7 separate regions of the Homo sapiens genome follow, and regions 1, 2, 3, 4, 5 and 7 are each linked to region 6. The links are contacts of gene promoters, found by promoter capture Hi-C in human tissues and cell types (Jung and others, 2019). All regions are on one chromosome and are shown on one strand. The core of a region is centred on a gene start or on the middle of the fragment in contact, and the rest is flanking DNA. Distances in the headings are between cores, read along the strand shown.

Evidence for each region. The method cuts DNA at HindIII sites, captures the fragments that hold promoters and counts their contacts. A contact is called where the count stands out against the background at its distance.
Region 1: a contact is called between the fragment with the promoter of SLC25A23 here and the fragment with the promoter of SH2D3A in region 6, in 2 of the 25 tissues and cell types used here (bladder and spleen).
Region 2: a fragment that was not itself captured here is called in contact with the fragment with the promoter of SH2D3A in region 6 in 2 of the 25 tissues and cell types used here (IMR-90 fibroblasts and lymphoblastoid cells).
Region 3: a contact is called between a fragment that was not itself captured here and the fragment with the promoter of SH2D3A in region 6, in 1 of the 25 tissues and cell types used here (spleen).
Region 4: a contact is called between a fragment that was not itself captured here and the fragment with the promoter of SH2D3A in region 6, in 2 of the 25 tissues and cell types used here (lymphoblastoid cells and thymus).
Region 5: the fragment with the promoter of KHSRP here is called in contact with the fragment with the promoter of SH2D3A in region 6 in 4 of the 25 tissues and cell types used here (IMR-90 fibroblasts, dorsolateral prefrontal cortex, heart right ventricle and 1 more).
Region 7: a fragment that was not itself captured here is called in contact with the fragment with the promoter of SH2D3A in region 6 in 1 of the 25 tissues and cell types used here (lymphoblastoid cells).

What each region holds. Positions count from the first base shown.
Region 1 is chr19:6,458,368-6,461,067 of GRCh38, reverse strand. It overlaps SLC25A23 (solute carrier family 25 member 23), which reads left to right and starts at 1,276. Exons shown (of 10, transcript NM_024103.3): 1 at 1,276-1,595. The coding sequence starts at 1,440. RefSeq lists silencers at 585-764, 1,275-1,414, 1,465-1,524. The HindIII fragment of the contact is 25,958 bases long and covers 1-2,700 here.
Region 2 is chr19:6,285,849-6,288,548 of GRCh38, reverse strand. No RefSeq gene overlaps it. Among named protein-coding and RNA genes, the nearest start is that of MLLT1, 7.2 kb to the right of the region's middle. The HindIII fragment of the contact is 3,632 bases long and covers 1-2,700 here.
Region 3 is chr19:6,387,131-6,389,830 of GRCh38, reverse strand. GTF2F1 (general transcription factor IIF subunit 1) reads left to right here. Exons shown (of 13, transcript NM_002096.3): 4 at 194-387; 5 at 2,272-2,442. MIR6885 (microRNA 6885) reads left to right here and starts at 128; the gene lies at 128-193. RefSeq lists an enhancer at 2,299-2,700. The HindIII fragment of the contact is 4,380 bases long and covers 1-2,700 here.
Region 4 is chr19:7,089,139-7,091,838 of GRCh38, reverse strand. LOC124904625 (a long non-coding RNA gene) reads left to right here. Exons shown (of 3, transcript XR_007067110.1): 3 at 2,388-2,700. Among named protein-coding and RNA genes, the nearest start is that of ZNF557, 21 kb to the right of the region's middle. The HindIII fragment of the contact is 5,869 bases long and covers 1-2,700 here.
Region 5 is chr19:6,423,480-6,426,179 of GRCh38, reverse strand. It overlaps KHSRP (KH-type splicing regulatory protein), which reads left to right and starts at 1,369. Exons shown (of 19, transcript NM_001366299.1): 1 at 1,369-1,727. The coding sequence starts at 1,479. It overlaps SLC25A41 (solute carrier family 25 member 41), which reads left to right. Exons shown (of 7, transcript NM_173637.4): 7 at 1-143. RefSeq lists an enhancer at 942-1,061. The HindIII fragment of the contact is 26,210 bases long and covers 1-2,700 here.
Region 6 is chr19:6,766,042-6,768,741 of GRCh38, reverse strand. SH2D3A (SH2 domain containing 3A) reads left to right here and starts at 1,307. Exons shown (of 10, transcript NM_005490.3): 1 at 1,307-1,355. RefSeq lists a silencer at 769-828. The HindIII fragment of the contact is 38,619 bases long and covers 1-2,700 here.
Region 7 is chr19:7,195,377-7,198,076 of GRCh38, reverse strand. All of the region lies in intron 2 of INSR (insulin receptor), which reads left to right. Among named protein-coding and RNA genes, the nearest start is that of INSR, 98 kb to the left of the region's middle. RefSeq lists a silencer at 1-61 and enhancers at 1-729, 542-741. The HindIII fragment of the contact is 6,200 bases long and covers 1-2,700 here.

The DNA of each region.
Region 1 (2,700 bases), core at 27-2,526, 310 kb after region 6:
TCCCAGCTACTCGGGAGGCTGAGGCAAAAGAATCGTTTGAATCCGGGAGGCGGAGGTTGCAGTGAGCCGAGATCGCGCCATTGCACTCCAGCCTGAGCAACAACAGCGAAACTCCGTTTCAAAAAAAAAAAAAAAAAAAAGATAATTAATTCTTTCTAGGGTATAGAGTGATGGTTAAGGATCCCAGATCTCTTTAAACCCTGTTTTGCCCCTTAGTGGTCATCAGGACTGGGGAGAATGACTTAACCTCCGCTTCCTTATCTGCAAAGTGCGAACGCCAGTACCACCTACCTTATAGGGTTTTGGCAAAGACGACTCGAGAGGTGAGTAAAAGCCCTGGCATGTGCAAAGCACTGAATCAAAGTGAGATTTGTTATCGAGTATTCGCTGTCAAGTGGTCTGGGCTCCCTTCCCCCTAATGGTGGATCGAGAAACTGCGCCCGAAACTAGCAGTAGGGACATTCCGCAGGTGCAGCGAGTGCGACAGGCTGGGGCCCTGCCTCCAGCGCTCGACCACTGGGATCCTCAACCCCGCGCCCGGGTCACTGAGCCACCCCCTCCCCACGCCGCTCAGCGTCTGATTGCGGCCGCGGCCCCTTTAAGATCTCCTGGCAGGCGGTGGGACTGCGGGCTGGAGGCAGTCGGGGGTCTGCGGGGAGGCCCCGCCTAGGTGGGAGAAGAGGCGGGGCGGGCGGGCTCAGCCCAGGAGGCGCTGACCAATAGGAAACCGACTTTGCAGCCGCGCCGCGCGTTGATTTTCTGTTTCCCAGTCAGAGTGGGAACCGAGAAAGGAAGCGCGCGGGCGGGAAGAAGGGACAGTGGGAGAGCATCGCTCCTGGATCTTCTGTTTCTGCGGCCGAGCGGGGAAGGTGTAAGGCGCGGGCGGGCAGAGAGCGAGCGAGATGGTGCACGGTTCTTGCGTGCGTCTGGGAAAAGCGAGAACTTGAGTTCCTGAAGATTAGTGGGTGTGGCGGGGAGGTCAAGTGGAAGGGGATTATGAAACCCAATCCCCGACAGCGCTCTACCTTGCCCCCTTGGGCAAAGGGGGAAAGGGTAAACTGAGGCACGCAGAGGCGGAACTCTGAAACCAGACCTGAGACCACTGAGCTCCCTAGCCCGTCTTCCCAGAAGGAACTCTGGTGTTCCTCGGCTGTGCAATACCAGACCATCCCAGACATTCCCTCCCCACGCCCCCAGCTCCGCCCTCGGTCCCCTCCCCCCAATGCAGGTCGGGGGAGGAGACGCAAGTTCTGGCGCGGGCGGCGACGGCTAGCCGTCACCACCTCCCGCAAGTGCCAGAGCCGAGCGGACTGCGCGGAGGCTGCGGAGCCGGCGGCCGCGGGAGCTGACCCTGCGGGGTCCCGGGGGGGGAGGGGGAGCCGCGAAGCCCCCACTGAGGCCGCCGCTGCCGGGCCTCCCCTCCCCCCCGGGCGGGCGCCATGCGGGGGAGCCCGGGCGACGCGGAGCGGCGGCAGCGCTGGGGTCGCCTGTTCGAGGAGCTGGACAGTAACAAGGATGGCCGCGTGGACGTGCACGAGTTGCGCCAGGGGCTGGCCAGGCTGGGCGGGGGCAACCCAGACCCCGGCGCCCAACAGGTACCCCCACCCCCAGGGACCTCCTCCCCTCCCGGCCCCGCCCGCTCCCGGTTACCCAAGCCCCTGAACTGGGCGGCCGGAGCCACCAGGGACTACCTGTGGCTGGACTCCAGAACCTGTGTCTCTGTCTCGTTCCCCCTACCCACTCGTGTTTGGCCTAACGGGATCGCTCAAGACAGGGACGCCGAGGCCCCAAGCCTGCAGTTCCGCGGCCAACACCCGATCCCCCTGCTGCGGGGCAGGGGGCGTCTGCCTGGGAAGAGATGGGGGCGCTTTCCTGCCCACTGCCCGGGACACACCCTCCTCCAGACTGCACAGCCCATGACGTGCCCTGCTCTCACCTCCAGGAGACACACCCTCCATCCTCTGGGCACCTACTGCCCTGGCCTGCAGCTGCCCCGATCCCTGTGTTTACATTCCCTGGCCTGCCCTTTCATGGGCCGTTCACGGGCCTGGCTCACTGTCCCGGGCTGCCCCAGCCAGGGACCCAATCCTGTCTGCGGTCACCCGCAGCTGGGAATGCACCTATAACAAGACTTTCCTCCCGCTGCCCCCACCTCCACTTTGCAGGTCCTTCCCACACCTGTAGCCCCAGATCGCTCTAAGAGAACCACAGCAACCCTGAGAGCAGTCCAACCTCCCACTTCCCAAATGGGAAAAACCAAGGCCTCAGCCACTCCGCTTGGTTCTCTCCTGCCCCACATCGCCCAGGGCTTCCTCCAAAGGGAACCCCTGGGTCCCCCATGTGGACAGGGTTTTTTAAGAGGCAGCTGGGTTCAACAGGAATGAGATACCTAAAAAAATAACAAAAACTAAAAACAAGAGACAGCTGGAAGGACAGGCTTTACAGATGAGAACTGAGGTTACCATTTCCTGGTTCTGTGACCTTGAACTGGTGACTTGACCTTGCAGAGCCTCAGTTTGCTCACCAGGAAAACTAGACCACTCACACCCACCGCACAGACCTGTGGTGGCTGTAGGGATCTGGCTGAGAAGTTAGCTGACTGAGGGAGAAGTGGGGTGACGTCTTCTATCCCCTTCCTCAAGGCGCTGGGGGCTCTGGGTTCCTAAGGCATAAGGTGACATGCGTCCCCTCCAGATCAGG
Region 2 (2,700 bases), core at 110-2,609, 480 kb after region 6:
TGGTGAAACCCCATCTCTATTAAAATACAAAAATTAGCCAGGCATGGTGGTGCATGCCTGAAATCCCAACTACTTTGGAGGCAGATGTTGCAGTGAGATAAGATCACACCACTGCACTCCAGCCTGGGCGACAGAGCAAGGCTCTGTCTCAAACACACACACACACACACACACACACACACGCGTGCGCACAGAAATTTAATGTTGTATATAAAGAAGAGATAGGAGCTGGGTGCAGTGGCTCATGCCTGTAATCTCAACACTTTGGGAGGTCAAGGTGGGTGGATCACCTAAGGTCAGGAGTCAAGATCATGCCATGCCACTGCACTCCAGCCTGGGCGACAGAGCAAGACTCCATCTCAAAAAAAAAAAAAAAAAAGAAGAGATAAGAACCTTGACAACCATGAAAGAAAGAAAGATAGGAGACTGGAGGTCCTAGTGCCAACAACACCCTAATGGGCGCTTAGGGACTTGAGTTTCAGGAGTTAGTCCAGGGGCCTTTGGATAACACTGAGGCATAGCCTCAGCCAGATACCCTCAGTTGCCCCAGGACCTCCTTCTGGTCCCATGTAACAGGTAGACCTCATGGAAGGAAACGGGATTGAAACAAACCCAACATTCTCAACACTTGAGGATGATGAGGGATTGACAGTGTCCTCCCCAGCAAGGCTATCATCCATGTTTTAAGTCCAGCATCTCTGCTAGTTAATTTTAACTGGCTAATAGAGGCCTGGTGTTTTTCTTTCATTTTAGCTATTGTTGAGTTTAGGGACTCCTAAAAAGGGACAGAAAGAGCAGATCTGCTTTTACTCACCCTTTCACTCACCCTTCTGCAGATCCTGGACGAGCCCTCAAAAATGTTGCAGGATCCTTGGGGTGTTGATTTCTGGTTGGAAACCTCTGTGGCTGGTGGCACCTTTGCCTGAGTTTTGCTCGGGCCCACTGGGCTCATTCCACCCACACGGCCTGGCAGGCTGTGCTCAGCTCACACTACTAGCCTGGATCTCACACTTGCCAAGGGCAAGCCAGGCATGGAGGGGCGAGGGGTGTGTGAGCAAGCAAGCAAGCATGAGGTCCGGCCACTGCATGCAGCCAGGCACACCAGCTGCTGCAGCAGAGCAGACAGCTCCAGGTGCTGGCAGGGGCCCTGGCTCTCTGAGAGGCTGCGGCCAGACCAGGTGCACCATAAGCAGCTTCCACAGCTGCCACCAGGGAATGCAGTGGCACTCAGAAGCTTGGAGACTATAGGAAACACTGGGGTCCAAAGAGGGAGTCACAGCCCTGGCTCAGGGAGCTCCTAGGTCCCTGAAGGGCCACAGCTCTTCTCTCCTTCTCTTCACCCACAACATGGCAAGGCGCATGTTTCAGCCCTGTGGGTTTTATAGCTCTTTCAGCCCTGCTGTTTAGCAGTTCCTGAATTCTTGTCCTGTGCCCAAGAAGAATGAGGTATGTGGACAAGTGGAGGGTGAGCAAGGTGAACAGGAGCTTTATTGAGCGACAGAGTAGCTCAGAGGAGGCCTTGGATTGGGTAGCTCCTCTCTGCAGGCAGTCCATCCTGTCATTTTCTGTGGCTCTCAGTGAAGAGGAGGCCCTGGAGTGGGTAGCTTCTCTCTGCGGGCAGGTTGTCCCATTGCTTGCCCAGCTTTCAGCAGAGGGGAGGCCCTGGAGTGGGTAGCTCCTCTCTGCAAGCAGGTTGTGCCATCATTCCCTGCAGCTCTCAGCAGAAGGAGGCCCTGGGGTGAGTTGCTTCTCTCTGCAGGCAGGTCATCCCATGTTCATCCCAGCTCTTAGCAAAGAAGAGGCCTTAGAGTGAGTTGCTCCTCTCTGCAGCTGGTAGTCCCGACGTCTCTGCAGCTCTCAGCAGAGAGGAGGCCCTGGAGTTGGTAGCTGCTCTCTGAAGCTGGTCATCCCGATATCTGCCCAGCTTTGGCTGAGCCCAGGGCTTTTATGGGCCTCAGAGGGGAAAAAATGCATGCTGATTGGTCCATGAGCAGGCCTGGAAAAGGCATCACATGTTTCCACTCCAGTCCATGGGGCTGGTAGCCCAGCCCCTAGCCTTCAGGCCCTCCCTGGCCTGAAGGTGGGGCCTCACCAGGGACCCATCCCCTTCCATCCAGGAACCTGTCTACCTCCTGCTGCTGTTGATGGTGCCCAGGCTATAGGTGCCAAGGGGCGCATGCAGGTCAGCACTGAGCTGCCCTCAGCCCCCCCTTTGGCTTCCCTCCTATGCTCGTTGGTGCCCGAAGTCCAGATGGGGCTGAGGTAGCAGGGGGCTGGTGTGTCTGTGCTGCCCCAAGTTTGTGCACACCCTGCCTGGCTGCAACAGCTCTGGGGCTCAGCCCCAACTTTGCTTTGAGATGGAGTGGGCACCAACAGCAGGGAGAAGCCAAGCAGTGGAAGCAGACATTTCTGAGCCTGCAAGGGCAGGGGGAACCTTCCCGGGCCCCTAGGAGTGCAGGGACTCCTAATCTGCAGCTGCAGTTTGGACAGCTGCAGCTGCACCTGGGAGGGTGGGGCTCCTGCCTGCCTCTGGGCCTGAGAGCCCAGTAATGCCCAGGTCTGTAGCCATGGCTTTAGTGGCTGCAGCACCACCCAGGGAGCTCCCACCCCAATGCAGAAGGGGCGGGGCTCCCACTTGTCACCAGCTTCTGCCAGATCTATGGAACATGCAGTCCTGGCCATTCCTCTGTGCTGCAGCTA
Region 3 (2,700 bases), core at 1-2,500, 380 kb after region 6:
AGAGCGCAAGGCTCGCCCAAATTCCCTTTACCCAGATTTGTCAAAGGCTACCGTTCTCCTCCCTTGTTGCCAAGTGGTAAGTTGGTTTTGAGAATCTAGAGCTTGGCCTAGGGCAAGGAAGGGCGTTCCTGGAGGGGGGCACTGCGCAAGCAAAGCCAGGGACCCTGAGAGGCTTTGCTTCCTGCTCCCCTAGGCTCGGCTGGAGCGGGACTTGAGCAACAAGAAAATCTACCAAGAGGAGGAGATGCCCGAATCGGGCGCGGGCAGTGAGTTCAACCGCAAGCTTCGGGAGGAGGCTCGGAGGAAGAAGTACGGCATCGTCCTCAAGGAGTTCCGGCCCGAGGACCAGCCCTGGCTGCTCCGGGTCAACGGCAAATCAGGCAGGAAGTAAGTGGTGGGGCGGTGGCGGTGCCGGCTTAGTGACCAGTCCACATCCCCAGGCCTCAACTTACATACTTTGTGGGGTACCCTCTCTGAACCTCAGATTCCCACTGCTGCAGTGGAAGTGCTGGCACTTCCATCCCTGTAGGATTTTATTATTTATTTATTTATTTATTTATTTATGTTATCTTATTTTACTTACTTGTATTTTTTTGAGACAGAGTCTTGCTCTGTCGCCCAGGCTGGAGTGCAGTAGCACGATCTTGGCTCACTGCAACCCACACCTCCCAGGTTCAAGTTATTCTCCTGCCTGAGCCTCCTGAGTAGCTGGGATTACAGGTGCCTGCCACCACCACGCCCAGCTAATTTTTGTATTTTTAGTAGAGACAGGGTTTCACCATATTGGTCAGGCTGGTCTCGAACTTGGCGATCCTCCCGCCTCGGCCTCCCGTAGTGCTGGGATTACAGGCGTGAGCCACCGTGCCCAGCCTACTTATTTATTTTGAGACAGGGTCTCACTCCGTTGCCCAGGCTGGAGTGCAGTGGTGCGATCGTAGCTCACTGCAGGCTCCAACTCCTGGGCTCGAGATCTTCCCACCTCAGCATCCTGAGTAGCTGGGACTATAGGCACGCCCCACCATGCCTGGCTAATTTTTGTATTTTTGGTAGAGATGGGGTCTTGCTGCGTTGCTCAAGCTGGTCTTGAACTCCTGGGGTCAAGTGATCCTCCTACCTTGGTCTCCCAAAGTGCTGGGATTATAGGTATGAGCCACTGCCCAGGCCCTGGGGTTGTGTTTTTGAAGACAGTTCACTGAGTTGGTGCTTGTGCCTGGCTCTGAGGCAGCTCTGAGTGCCACAATGCAGGAAGCTTAGGTGGCCAGCCCTGGGAGCTCATGACACTTGAGATGACCTCTCAGAGGGGGCAGACTGAGGGCAGAACAGGAGGGGTCCAGGTTAGGTTGATGAAGGGTGCTCCAGGCACAGCAGTTGGGTGATAGTGACAGACACAGGCAGCTCACACAGGGCAGTGGGTGCCAGGATGTGCTGGGTCCAGCGGAGCCTTGGAAAGCTGTAGGCAGGGAAGAGGCACTCACCCAGACTGTCCGGAACTTTGGGGTAGAAAAGAATGAGGTAGAGGCCTCAAGGAGGCTGGGCAGTTGTTTAGGCTTGAGGAAATGGTGGCCCGGGCCAGGTGTCCACTTCAGATTTGGCCATGCCATGGCTGGGCGCGGTGGCTCACGCCTGTAATCCTAGCCCTTTGGGAGGCAGAGGCGGGCGGATTACGTGGGGTCAGGGGTTCGAAACTAGCCTGGCCAACATGGTGAAACCCTGTCTCTACTAAAACTACAAAAATTAGCTGGGTGTGGTGGCAGACACCTGTAATCCCAGCTACTCGGGAGGCTGAGGCATGAGAATTGCTTGAACCCGGGAGGTGGAGGTTGCAGTGAGCTGAGATGGTGCCACTGCACTCCAGCCTGGGTGCCAGAGCGAGACTCCATCTCAAAAAAAAAAATTTGGCCATGCCTTCCCGCCCCATCTTCTCACTTGGCTCCTCAGTTTCCCGGGTGTGGCCCACAGATAGCAGAGCTGGAGGCAAATGTAGACAGTTTGACTGCAGGGTTGGGCTCTCCTGAGATAATCTCACACAGTCTTTCCAGAAATGATCCCGATGTGCACACGCCCAGCACTTTGCAGGGTAGGTGCGCCGGCCCTGTTCCCCAGATGTGGAAATTGACGAGGCCCAGGTGGTTGAAGGGCCTGCCCAGGCCTCATGGGCATTTCTTGGTCTTCCTCCTATGGCAAGTGCCATAAAGGAGGCAGGCCCCGGGGGGACACGGGGGGGCTGGGGCTGGTCCCTATGGGCCAGGCCATGACCGTGGCTCCCTGCAGGTTCAAGGGCATCAAGAAGGGAGGCGTAACAGAGAACACGTCCTACTACATCTTCACCCAGTGCCCCGACGGGGCCTTCGAGGCCTTCCCCGTGCACAACTGGTACAATTTCACACCGCTGGCCCGGCATCGCACGCTCACTGCCGAGGAGGCCGAGGAGGAGTGGGAGAGGTGAGTGGGCTGGGTGGTGGCTGGGGACAGAAGTGAGGGAAATGGGGTGCCTTGCCATGGATATATCACCAGGCCCTGTGCTGGGAGCTGGGGACTCAGGGGTAACCAGGGCAGACCCCACTCGGCCGTCTCAGAGCTGTCAGTTCAGGAGGAAACAGATAGGAGGCCTTAGGGCCACAATGGGGCACCCCAGAGGGTGCTGCCAGAGCCAGAGTCTGTGACCCGGAGCTCAAATTGGCAGAGCAGGGTGGGGTCTAA
Region 4 (2,700 bases), core at 17-2,516, 320 kb before region 6:
TGTACCTACTGTGGTCCACCATGTGTGCCACTCAGATGCCCTGCATTCATTTTGTTTGTTTTGTTTTTGAGACAGAGTCTCCCTCTGTTGCCCAGGCTGGAGTGCAGTGGTACCATCTTGGCTCACTGCAACCTCTGCCTCCTGAGTTCAAGTGATTCTCCTGCCTCAGCCTCTGGAGTAGCTGGGACTATAGGCATGTGCCACCATACTCAGCTATTTTTTGTATTTTTAGTAGAAATGAGGTTTCACCATGTTGGCTAAGCTGGTCTCGAACTCCTAACCTCAAGTGATCTGCCCGCCTCTGCCTCCCAAAGTGTTGGGATTACAGGCGTGAGCCACTGTGCCCGGCCCCAGGATTCTTAAAGTAAGTGCCCTCAGGATCCAGGTTGGTCCCGTTGCCTGGAGAAACTGACAAGAGGAAGATCAGTGGGACAAACTGTAGACAGCCCTTTCCACCTGAACAAGTCTCAGAGATGCAATTGATGCTTATCACACTCCTTTACTTGCACCTTCCAGATTCCCTTTACCCTTGACTAGGGTGAAAATTCTAGATTTCCTTCTCACCTAGATCCTGCTGGTCTAGGTGGCTTACCTGGAGAGCTGCTCCAGATCCTTATGCCTACGGGGTCTTCACCATGCCCTTCTCAGGACATAGCTGGTGAAATTTTTTTATCTTTTTCTTTTTTGGAGACAGAGTCTCGCTCTGTTGCCCAGGCTGGAGTGCAGTGGCGCGATCTCGGCTCACTGCAAGCTCCGCCTCCTGGGTTCACGCCATTCTCCTGCGTCAGCCTCCCAAGTAGCTGGGACTACAGGCGCCTGCCAACGCGCCCAGTTAATTTTTTTGTATTTTTTGTAGAGACAGGGTTTCACCATGTTAGCCAGGCTGGTCTCGATCTCCTGACCTTGTGATGTGCCCACCTCGGCCTCCCAAAGTGCTGGGATTACAAGCGTGACCCACCACGCCTGGCCAAAATTTTTTTATCTTTAAAATTGGGGAAAGAATAGTAAGAGACATCCCAATGGATTCCGTGAATGCCAAATGTTTTCCTCCCTGCACTCATCATGTAACAGCAGCCTCAGATTCTATGGATGATAGCATTAATTACCTAAGTCAGTATGGTGACTTCTTTCCTTGTGTGCTGGTCTCATAGAAGTCACAGTTTAACATCCGATGAGACTCTTACTGTGTCTCTTGGTGGAAGTGTTTCCCTCTGGGAACCAAGTCCTTTAGGTTACTTCTCTTTTTTCTTTTTTTTTAGATGAAGTCTTACTCTGTCACCCAGGCTAGAGTGCAGTGGCATGATCTCGGCTCACTGCAATCTCCGCCTCCCGGGTTCAAGAGATTCTCCTGCCTCAGCCTCCTGAGTAGCTGGGATTACAGGCGCCCACCACTGTGCCTGGCTAATTTTGTATTTTTAGTAGAGACGGGGTTTCACCATGTTGGCCAGGCTGGTCTCAAACTCCTGACCTCGTGATCCACCGACCTCGGCCTCCCAAAGTGCTGGGATTACAGGGGTAAGCCACTGCGCCTGGCCAGGTTAATTATTTCTTTTGCTTTCCTCCCCAATGGCTCTGTTCCTCATCCTATACAGGAAACACTGGTGTTGGCAACTATGTTAGGCTTCATCGGGGAGTATCAGTGCATGGACACCACCCCAGGGTAGCTGAGCAACTGATAGAATTCCTGGGCTTGGATATGAACTTTCCATCCAGGTGATGGGCATGAGTAGATTCTGAGAAGCAAAAGGAGTGACCAATACTGGGTATCTTCCATTCGCCCCAGCAGATTCACCTCCTCTACCCTGCTGTACTTGGGATGATTAGTTACTATGAATGCTATCAACGAACTCCCTTACCTTATTGGCTTTTGGTTGAGTTTGGCAAATGGGGAACCCAAATATGATATAAGAAGAATGAAGGACAAGGAGGGCTGGCCCTGGCTATTTCTTTCTCTTTTTTGGTGGTGGTGGGGGGGTGGGGATGGAGTTTCACTCTGTCACCCAGGCTGGAGTGCAATGGCATGATCTTGGCTCATTGCAACCTCCACCTACCGGGTTCAAGCAATTCTCCTGCCTCAGCCTCCTGAATAGCTGGGACTACAGGCGCATGCCACCACACCCGGCTAGTTTTTGTATTTTCAGTAGAGAATGGGTTTCATCATGTTGGCCAGGCTGGTCTTGAACTCCTGATCTCAAGTGATCCACCCACCTCGGCCTCCCAAAGTGCCAGAATTATAGGTGTGAGCCACTGTGCCTGGCCGACCCTTACTATTTCTTGCAGAACTCGAGGCTGGATGTTGCCCCTCACTGACCTCCTGTCAGCTCCTGGAATGCAGCCCTCTCCTCGCTTGAACAACAACTTGCAGTTCTCTTCCTTTGTCCCTTCAGGCTTATGGGTGTCCTACGATCTGCCATTTGTTTGGAAGCTGGAGAACCAAGAAAGCTGGTAGTCTTGCTCCAGTCCAAGCTCAAAGACCTGAAAACAGGGGAGCCAACAGTGTAAACCCCAGTGTGAAGTCCAAAGGCTTGAGAACCAGGAGGGCCAATGGTGTAAGTTGCGAGTCTGAGTCTGAAGGCTGGAGAACCAGAAGCACCCGTATCTGAGGTGGGGAGAAGACCGATGTTCCATTTCAAGTACCTTTTGTGGTTTCCCTACATCCTGTTCACAATTCTGTGAGGAGCCCCTTGATATAAACTGCGC
Region 5 (2,700 bases), core at 120-2,619, 340 kb after region 6:
AAACTCCTGGGACTCCCTCCCCAGGGTGCAGCCTGAGACAAGAAACGTGGACTCCAGTCTGGCCCCTTGTGGGTCGTCCTGGCTCCAGGGCGAAATGGTGAACATGTCACACAACAAGGAATAAAGAGATGGTTTTTGCTGAACGTGTCTGGATACTTGGGCCTAGGAGTGGAACTGGGTGCATGAGATCCCTGGACCCAGTAGGGGAGCTGGGGACCTTGGGCCTCTGGGTCCTGAATGGGAATTTGTGTCCAGGAGAGGAAGTGAGGACCTAGGATAGGAGCTTGAGGCTTGGATCCCAGGGCCTTAGGCGAAGGGAGTGAGGGGTGTGAAGTGAGGGGTGTGATCGAGGCTGTGATCCCTCGATCCCGGTTGTTGGAACGGTTCTGGACTCGTGAGTGGGGCTGGTTCCTTGAGTCCTGCAAGAGAACTGGACGCTCTAGATGGGGGGTCGAGAGAGAAGAAGGCCCGGGGGATCCCGAGTTTCCTGCTTTCCGGCCTCCCCACCTCCGGAAGCGCTCGATCTCTAAGGCTTCAAGCGGGCCACGTGCCGGGCCTACCCAACCAGGCTGCCGGTGAGCTAACCCAGACATCAGGCCTGAGTTCGGGCAGCCGATTGCCACCGCCCACGTCGGCTGCCATTCACTACAGTTCCCGCTAATCCCCTCGCTGTCTGGTGGCCGACTCCGCCCCAATGCAGCGGCGCTTCCACTGGCTCCCACCAAAAGTGGGCGCTTTGATTTCCTTCATTCCCATTTGTCCAGACCAGTGTCAGTCACCGAACACCCACCCATGTCGCTCAGCCATTGGCTTAGAAGTCAGGGATAGAAAAGGATTCTGGTTAACAAGGGAAGCAATTAAAGTCCAAAGCCAACCTCATCACCCAGAACTCGTCAGGAATTGGATTAATTGGCTGCCCATCTTTACAAGCACCACCTCTCACGTGCATTCATTGGCTTGTGTCCACGACTATCAAACCTAACGCCCACCCAGCCGGTCCATAGGAGTCTTCCACTAGGCCCGGCCTTACAGTCCACGTGACTCTTCAGAACCGTCAATCTAATTCTGAAGCCGCCCCGCGAATCTGGCACTCGCGTTTCATTGGGCCTCCTGCCTTCTCAGATCTCCTTCATTTGCCCGCCCAGCACGGGCAGCTCGCAGCTATTGCCTCTGAGAGCTGTCAGTCACTCTGAGCCTCCCGCCCACTGCCCCTCATTGCACTCCGATTGGCCACCTCCTACAGAGCTCGCGATTGGTGTCCGGGGTGCGGCGGCTGCCTCCCATTGGCCCGCCGGAGTCGTCCGTCACGTCGGCGGCGGGAGGGGCGACTCTCTCCCCCCTCGTCGTCCTCCCAGCGGCTGGGTTCCCAGAGTGCTCCGCGGCCGTGTGGAGCGAGGCCTTGTTCCCGCGTTGAGCCGCCGCCGCCGCCGCCGCCTCCTCAGCTTCAGCCTCCGCGCCAGGCCCGGCCCCGCCGCGCCATGTCGGACTACAGCACGGGAGGACCCCCGCCCGGGCCGCCGCCGCCCGCCGGCGGGGGCGGGGGAGCCGGAGGCGCCGGGGGAGGCCCTCCGCCGGGCCCGCCAGGCGCGGGGGACCGGGGCGGCGGCGGTCCCGGCGGCGGCGGCCCGGGCGGGGGGTCGGCCGGGGGCCCCTCTCAGCCACCCGGCGGAGGCGGCCCGGGAATCCGCAAGGACGCTTTCGCCGACGCCGTGCAGCGGGCCCGCCAGGTGAGGAGGCCGAGGGCCTGAGGGGCGCGCTCGCGCGCGCGCGCAGGCGGGGGAGGGGGCGGGGGTCACGTGCGCGCGCGCGCGCAGGGTCGCGGAGGGGGGCCGGGGCCGTCGCGGGGTCACGTGGGCGGTAGGCGGGGGCCTGGCCCTCCCGCTGCGCCTCGAGTGGGATCCCAACGGGTGACCCCCCTGCAGGGAGTAGGGGCGCACTGGGGGTCACCAGGAGCGGCGCCTGGGTGTGCAGGCGCCCCGGAGCTCGGAGACGCACTTTTGGGACCCCCCCCTTAGCCCCCCGGCCTTAGGACATGCCTGGAGGCAGGGGTCCACCTTCCCGGGCGGAGGGCCTTTACTCTCCCCTCCATATCAGGGCAAAGGGCAGTGTTTGCCCCCAACCCAGTCCCATTTCTGTCCCCTCTCTAGGAGAAAGGGACATTGTGGGGGTGGGAGGGACAGTCCTTCCTCTTCAGTCGGGAAAGTGGATGGGGACCTGTCTAGGGCTGAGCACTTGGGCGAAATGGGGAAGACGAGCATGGGGACTGGCTCTTGGATGCTTTGGTGGCTTGAAAGCGTGGTCTGTCTCTTTGGGGGAAAGAAGGGAGGGTCTCCCACCCCCGTGTATTGAGGCGTAATGACAAGGAAGTGTCACATGCTGCTAGGACTGACCTCTCCAGCTCCATTTGCAGCCTCCCCATGGCCTGGAGGGGTGGGGGTCGGTAGAATGGGAGGACTTTGCCGCCGACCGGCTCCTGGGCTGTCCCAATGCCTCCGGGGCTAGAGACTGGCTCCTCCCAAGGTGGGAGGTCCCGTTAAGTGAACGCCTGTGTTCTGGCCCTCTGTCGTCTCTCTCACCCTTGGAGTTGGGTGGGTTCTAGCGTGCATTTGGTCTTATTGCCCATGGAACCGTCTGATTCTGGGACAGCTTGAAGGGAGGAAGCTGGTGCTGTCAGTTGGTGGGGACAGGCCCCCTGTGGGC
Region 6 (2,700 bases), core at 58-2,557:
TCCATCTCAAAAAATAAAATAAAATAAAATAAAGGCAAGTTGACAGAACAGCCCTTGTGTACAGTAAGTGCTCAATAAATGTTAGCTGCTGCTACTGCTTTTAAGACTGTGGTTACTGGGGCCAAGCACAGTGGTTCATGCTTGCTTGTAATCTCAGCGCTCTGGGAGGCCAAGGCAGGAAGTTCGCATGAGCCCAGGAGTTCCAGAGCCTGGGCAGCATAGTAAGACGCCACATCTACAAAAAATAAAATAAAATCAGCTGGGTGTGGTGGTGTGCACCTTTAGTCTCAGCTGCTTGGAAGGCTGAAGCGGGAGGATAGCTTAAGCCCAGGAGGTTGAGGCTACAGTGAGCTATGATCACCACTGCACTCCGGCCTGGGCAATATAGCAAGACCCTGTCTCTACAAGACAAGACTGATGTTAATATGAGGAACTCATCAATAAACGTGGCCAAAGAGTCCTCTCTCTTGCACTAGGTCCCTGTCACCTTTTCTCTTGTTCGTCTCCAGGCATCACGATGGAAGTCCCCCCCACCCTTCTTCCCACCTGGGAAACCACCTGAATGATTTGCCTTCCACCTCCACCAAAGTCCCGCCCCGCTCCAGCGTGCTGTCACTGAAGGAAGCTGTCGCGTTTTCCCGGACGTCTCTCCACAAAACCCGCCACCTAAATGGGGCTTCTTTCCGGAAAATCCGGGAGGGCGGTCTGGAGGAAGCGTACCCCTCCTTACGTCACAGCTGCCGCAGCTACCCCAGCCTGGCGTAAGAGCCCGAGGGAGTTGCCCTGCCCTGACCCGGAGCCTTGGCGGGGAGGGGAGAGAGGCACCCCACTCCACCCCGCCCTGGTCCCAAAGGGCCATGGGTGCTTGGGGCCGCCTGGGTGGAAGGGAGGGGCAGGGTTCTAAGGGGCGGGAACGTTGGGATGAAATTTCTTCTATTGCCCTAAGGGGCGGGGCTGAGAAGGAGGTGGCTGCGGGTGGGCGTAGTCATTCGGCGGTGGTCGTGGCTATATACAAGGGGAGGGGCCACTGGCAGGAAAGGATGCGTGGTGCTCCCCTAGTGGGCGGGGTCTATGGAGAAAGCGGTGCGATGCAGAAGGAGGCGTGGCTAGTAGCAAAAAAAATGGTTTTAAGGGGGCGGAGCAAGGGCCTGGGAAGTTAGTTTGAGGCGGGGCCCGCAGGGGGCGGGGTCTGCAGGAGGTGTGGTCAGGTAACTGGGCTGAGTTCCCACTAGGTGTGGTCTGGGAAGGCTGGGGCGGTGGCAAGGTGGAGGGCGGGGGTGACAGCAGCCCGGAGCCGCGGAGCCTCAGCTTCCGCCTGGACCCAGCCTCGTGGGAGCCCCGCGGGTCCTGCCCAGGTGAGTGGAGCCCCAGGGCAGATCCAGAACCAGGATTATTGGGATGGGGAGTCCTCTCTTTCCAGGTGGGGTCACCGGCTCGCAGGGAGGATCTGGGGTAGAAGAGGTCGCCTCGCGAATGAGAGGGTCGCTGTGCGTTACGCGTGTCGGTGTGCTCGGGCTCACCTGGGCGTGCCTCTCTAAGTGTATTTCCTGTGCAGCACAGAAAGCCATTGTTTCCATTTTTGCCTGAGTGATCCTCTTAAACGGCGAATCAGATCGGGCCCCTCCTTCACTTAAAACCCTTGGGTCATAGAGATTAAAATTCAAAGTCCACTAGTTTTTGCCTAGTCTCTCCTCCTGATCTCTCCAACCTCATTGCCCTCCTATCTACTCCTTCCTCATCGTATTCCGGCTACACCAGCCGCCTTGATGATGTAAAATGTAAAAAGCAAGTCCATCTCAGCTCCAGGCCTTTACCCTTACTGTACCCCTCACCCAGGCGACTCCTCCAAATCTTTGCCTAACTGCCTCCTTCTGTACTGAGGTCTCAGTTCCAATGTCACTTTATAGGAGAGGCTGTCCTGTCCAGCCTCCTCTATCACATCTCCCTGGCTTATCACTTTCATTGATAACTCTTAGAAATGGTCTGTCTTCTCCATTCATCTTGTGCTCGTTTGCAGTCTGTCTTGCGCAGCCGACTGCAAGCTCTGGAGGGCAGGGTGGTGCCGAGCTTTAATCTCCTTAGTCACTGTATCTCTAGGTCCTAGAACAGAGCCTGGTGCACAGCAAGTGCTCCAGCAATGGTCGTCCAACGTCAAAAGCGAGTCCTGCCTACATCTGTGTTTGTGTTGCCTGTGCTGGTGGTTCCCACCCTCCACGTCCTCCCCACACGTGGACACATGTTTATGATCCAACTGGAACATGAATAATCCCCTCTCTCCTCTCTCTATGCTTGGTCTGATTCCTGATTCTGCCCGTTTCTTCTCTTCCGTGCCCGAATAAATGATCCCAAAGGACTCAGAGGCAGGAGATGGCTTAGTTGGCCTTTGGCTGACCTATGGCCACCCTGTGTCCTCAAACTAACCAGAACCTTGCCATTGACTCAACTTCACTCTCACTAAGGGAGACACAAGACAGGAACTTGGGGTTGGGAAACTCTGCGACCGAGGCTAGCCCTGGTCCAGGTGACAAACAGGAAGTGCGCAGGCATTGCAAAGACACACCTGGCTTCAGGTATGCGGCACTGGCAGCTGGCTCCCTGCCCAGCGCTCCTCCCCTAAAGCCACCTAGGGCTGGTCTGGGAACTTCCTGCTGACTCAGGAGGCAGGAATTTCTCTGCAGACCCCACCAGAAGACTTTGCAG
Region 7 (2,700 bases), core at 122-2,621, 430 kb before region 6:
ACACACGCAGACACGGGCACACACGCAGACACACACACACGCCCATCATGGACACACACACACGCTCGCCCACCATGGACACACACACACTCCCACCATGGGGACACACACACACTCCCACCATGGGGACACACACACACACACACACACACACACACTCTCACTCTGGAACCGACCAATCCTGGGGCTGCACAGACACACACGCGCACACACTCTCTCTCGTTCTCTCTCTCTCTCTCTCGTTCTCTCTCTCTCTCGCTCTCTCTCCCACTCTGGAACCGACCAATCCTGGGGACACACACACACACACACACACACTCCCACTCTGGAACCTGCCAATCACACACACACACACACTCCCACTCTGGAACCTGCCAAACACACACACACACTCCCACTCTGGAACCTGCCAAACACACACACACACTCCCACTCTGGAACCTGCCAAACACACACACACTCCCACTCTGGAATCTGACACACACACACACACACACACCCAAACACACACACTCCCACTCTGGAACCTGACACACACACACACACACACACACACACACCCCCACTCCCACTCTGGAACCTGCCAATCCTGGGGCTGCTCTAGCGAGGAGACCCCTGGGACCCCGCCTCCTTCCGGGCCTCTGCGTGCGCAGTATATCTCCTAAGAGATCCGCAGCATGGAGAGGGCCCGCCCCCGTGGACGGACTCACTCCCTCCCCACTCACTCACTCACTCGCTTACTCACTCACTCACTCTCTCTCCGAAGAGAAGAAGCCTGCGGCTCCCGAAGCGGGAAGGCCCTCTGGTACTCTGTTCCCTTTCTAGCCTCTATATGCGCCGTATGTCTCCAAAGAGCTGCGCAGTTCTATTCCAAAGGCGTCATCGCGTGTGGGGCGGTATTGTCAGGCAAGGAAAAGGGGCGCTTCCCCGCTTCAAGGACACGCGCTCCTGCGGTCGTCGCTGCTGACCACGAAGCTGTCAAAAGTTCACCTCCTTGGCTGCCCCCAACCCCTGCCCCTTTGCCATTAAATCATTTACTAGATTCCAACTAGAGGAATTTGGCTCCGGGGACTCGAACCTCTGAGGTCAGGGTCTGGGGCCAGTGTGGGAGAGAAAGGCCTTGAATGGAAACAAAATAAATTACTTTAAGGAGTTTATAAAACTCACACTTATAGGGAGAGCCGCGGGGCCCTGTGGTCAATGTACCAGCAGGCCCATGACGCAACTGTTCCGTTTGGAAATTTCTGGAAAGCAGTAATTTTTGGAATCATAAATCTTGAGTATTTTTTTTTTAAACTTTGGAAAGGTTTTTAAACTTTTTTTTTTTAAGTTTTTTTTAAACTTCGGAAAGTTTTAAGCTTTGGAAAGAATGTAACAAAATGTTATTAACATATGTGGAGCTATCGAATCATTTAATGGTGGTTTCTGTATTTTCTGTTTTGTTTTTTATCACATACCTTCTTAATTAAGAAAAACCCAAACTAATTTGAACTTTAAAAGGGAGGCAAACAAAAAAGTGTCAGAGTGACTGGATTTTTGTGCGCAAGTCATTTAACAATGCAGCGCTGCGTCTCCTATTTCTCTGGCTTTTAACCTTGCTTTGGACAAATTGGTCGCTTTTTGTTTTGATGTCGTTTCAAGCTTACGGAAAAATTGCAAGATTATATCTAGATCAATCAATTGTTTACGTTTTATTCTACTTGTTTTATTACCTTTCTAATATATTTATGCACACACATTATATACATTTTTTTCCCCTGAACTATTTGAGAGTTAGTTGCAGGCATGATACATACTCCTTAATTCTTCAGTGGATATTTCCTAAGAACAAGAAAGTTCTGAGGCCAGGCGTGGTGGCTCATGCCTGTAATCCCAGCACTTTGGGAAGCTGAGGCGGGCGGATCACCTGAGGTCAGGAGTTCGAGACCAGCCTGACCAACTTGGAGAAGCCCCGTCTCTACTAAAAATACAAAATTAGCCAGGCGTGGTGGCACATGCCTGTAATCCCAGCTACTCGGGAGGCTGAGGCAGGAGGTTCGCTTGAACCTGGGAGGCAGAGGTTGCAGTGAGCCGAGATGGTGCCATTGCACTCCAGCCTGGGCAACAAGAGCGAAACTCCGTCTCAAACAAAAAAAAAAAAAAAAAGAAAGAAAAGAAAGAAAGTTCTCTTACATAATGATGGTACTGGTGCCGTTGTCAAAATCAGGAAATTAACATTGATACAGTATTTTAATCCAATGTCTTCTATAATCTTATCTGTTGTCTCAATATTGCCCTATATAGATTTTTTTTCCTAGGCGAAGGTTCCAATCTAGGATCACACTTTGCATTTGAATGCTGCTGTCTCTTAAGTCCGCACAATTCCTCAGTTTTCTGTGTCTTTCCCAACATTGGCTTTTATTTATTTATTTATTTATTTATTTTTATTTTTTTTTGAGGCGGAGTCTTACTCTGTCACCCAGGCTAGAGTGCAGTGGTGAGATCTTGGCTGACTGCAACCTCTGTCTCCTGGGTTCAAGTGATTCTCCTGCCTCAGCCCCCAAGTAGCCGGGATTACAGGCATGCGCCACCACACCCAGCTAATTTTTGTGTTTTTAGTAGAGAAAGGGTTTCACCATGTTGGCCAGGCTGGTCTCGAACTCCTGATCTCCAGTGATCTTCCTGCCTCAGCCTCCCAAAGTGCTGGGATTACACGTGTTA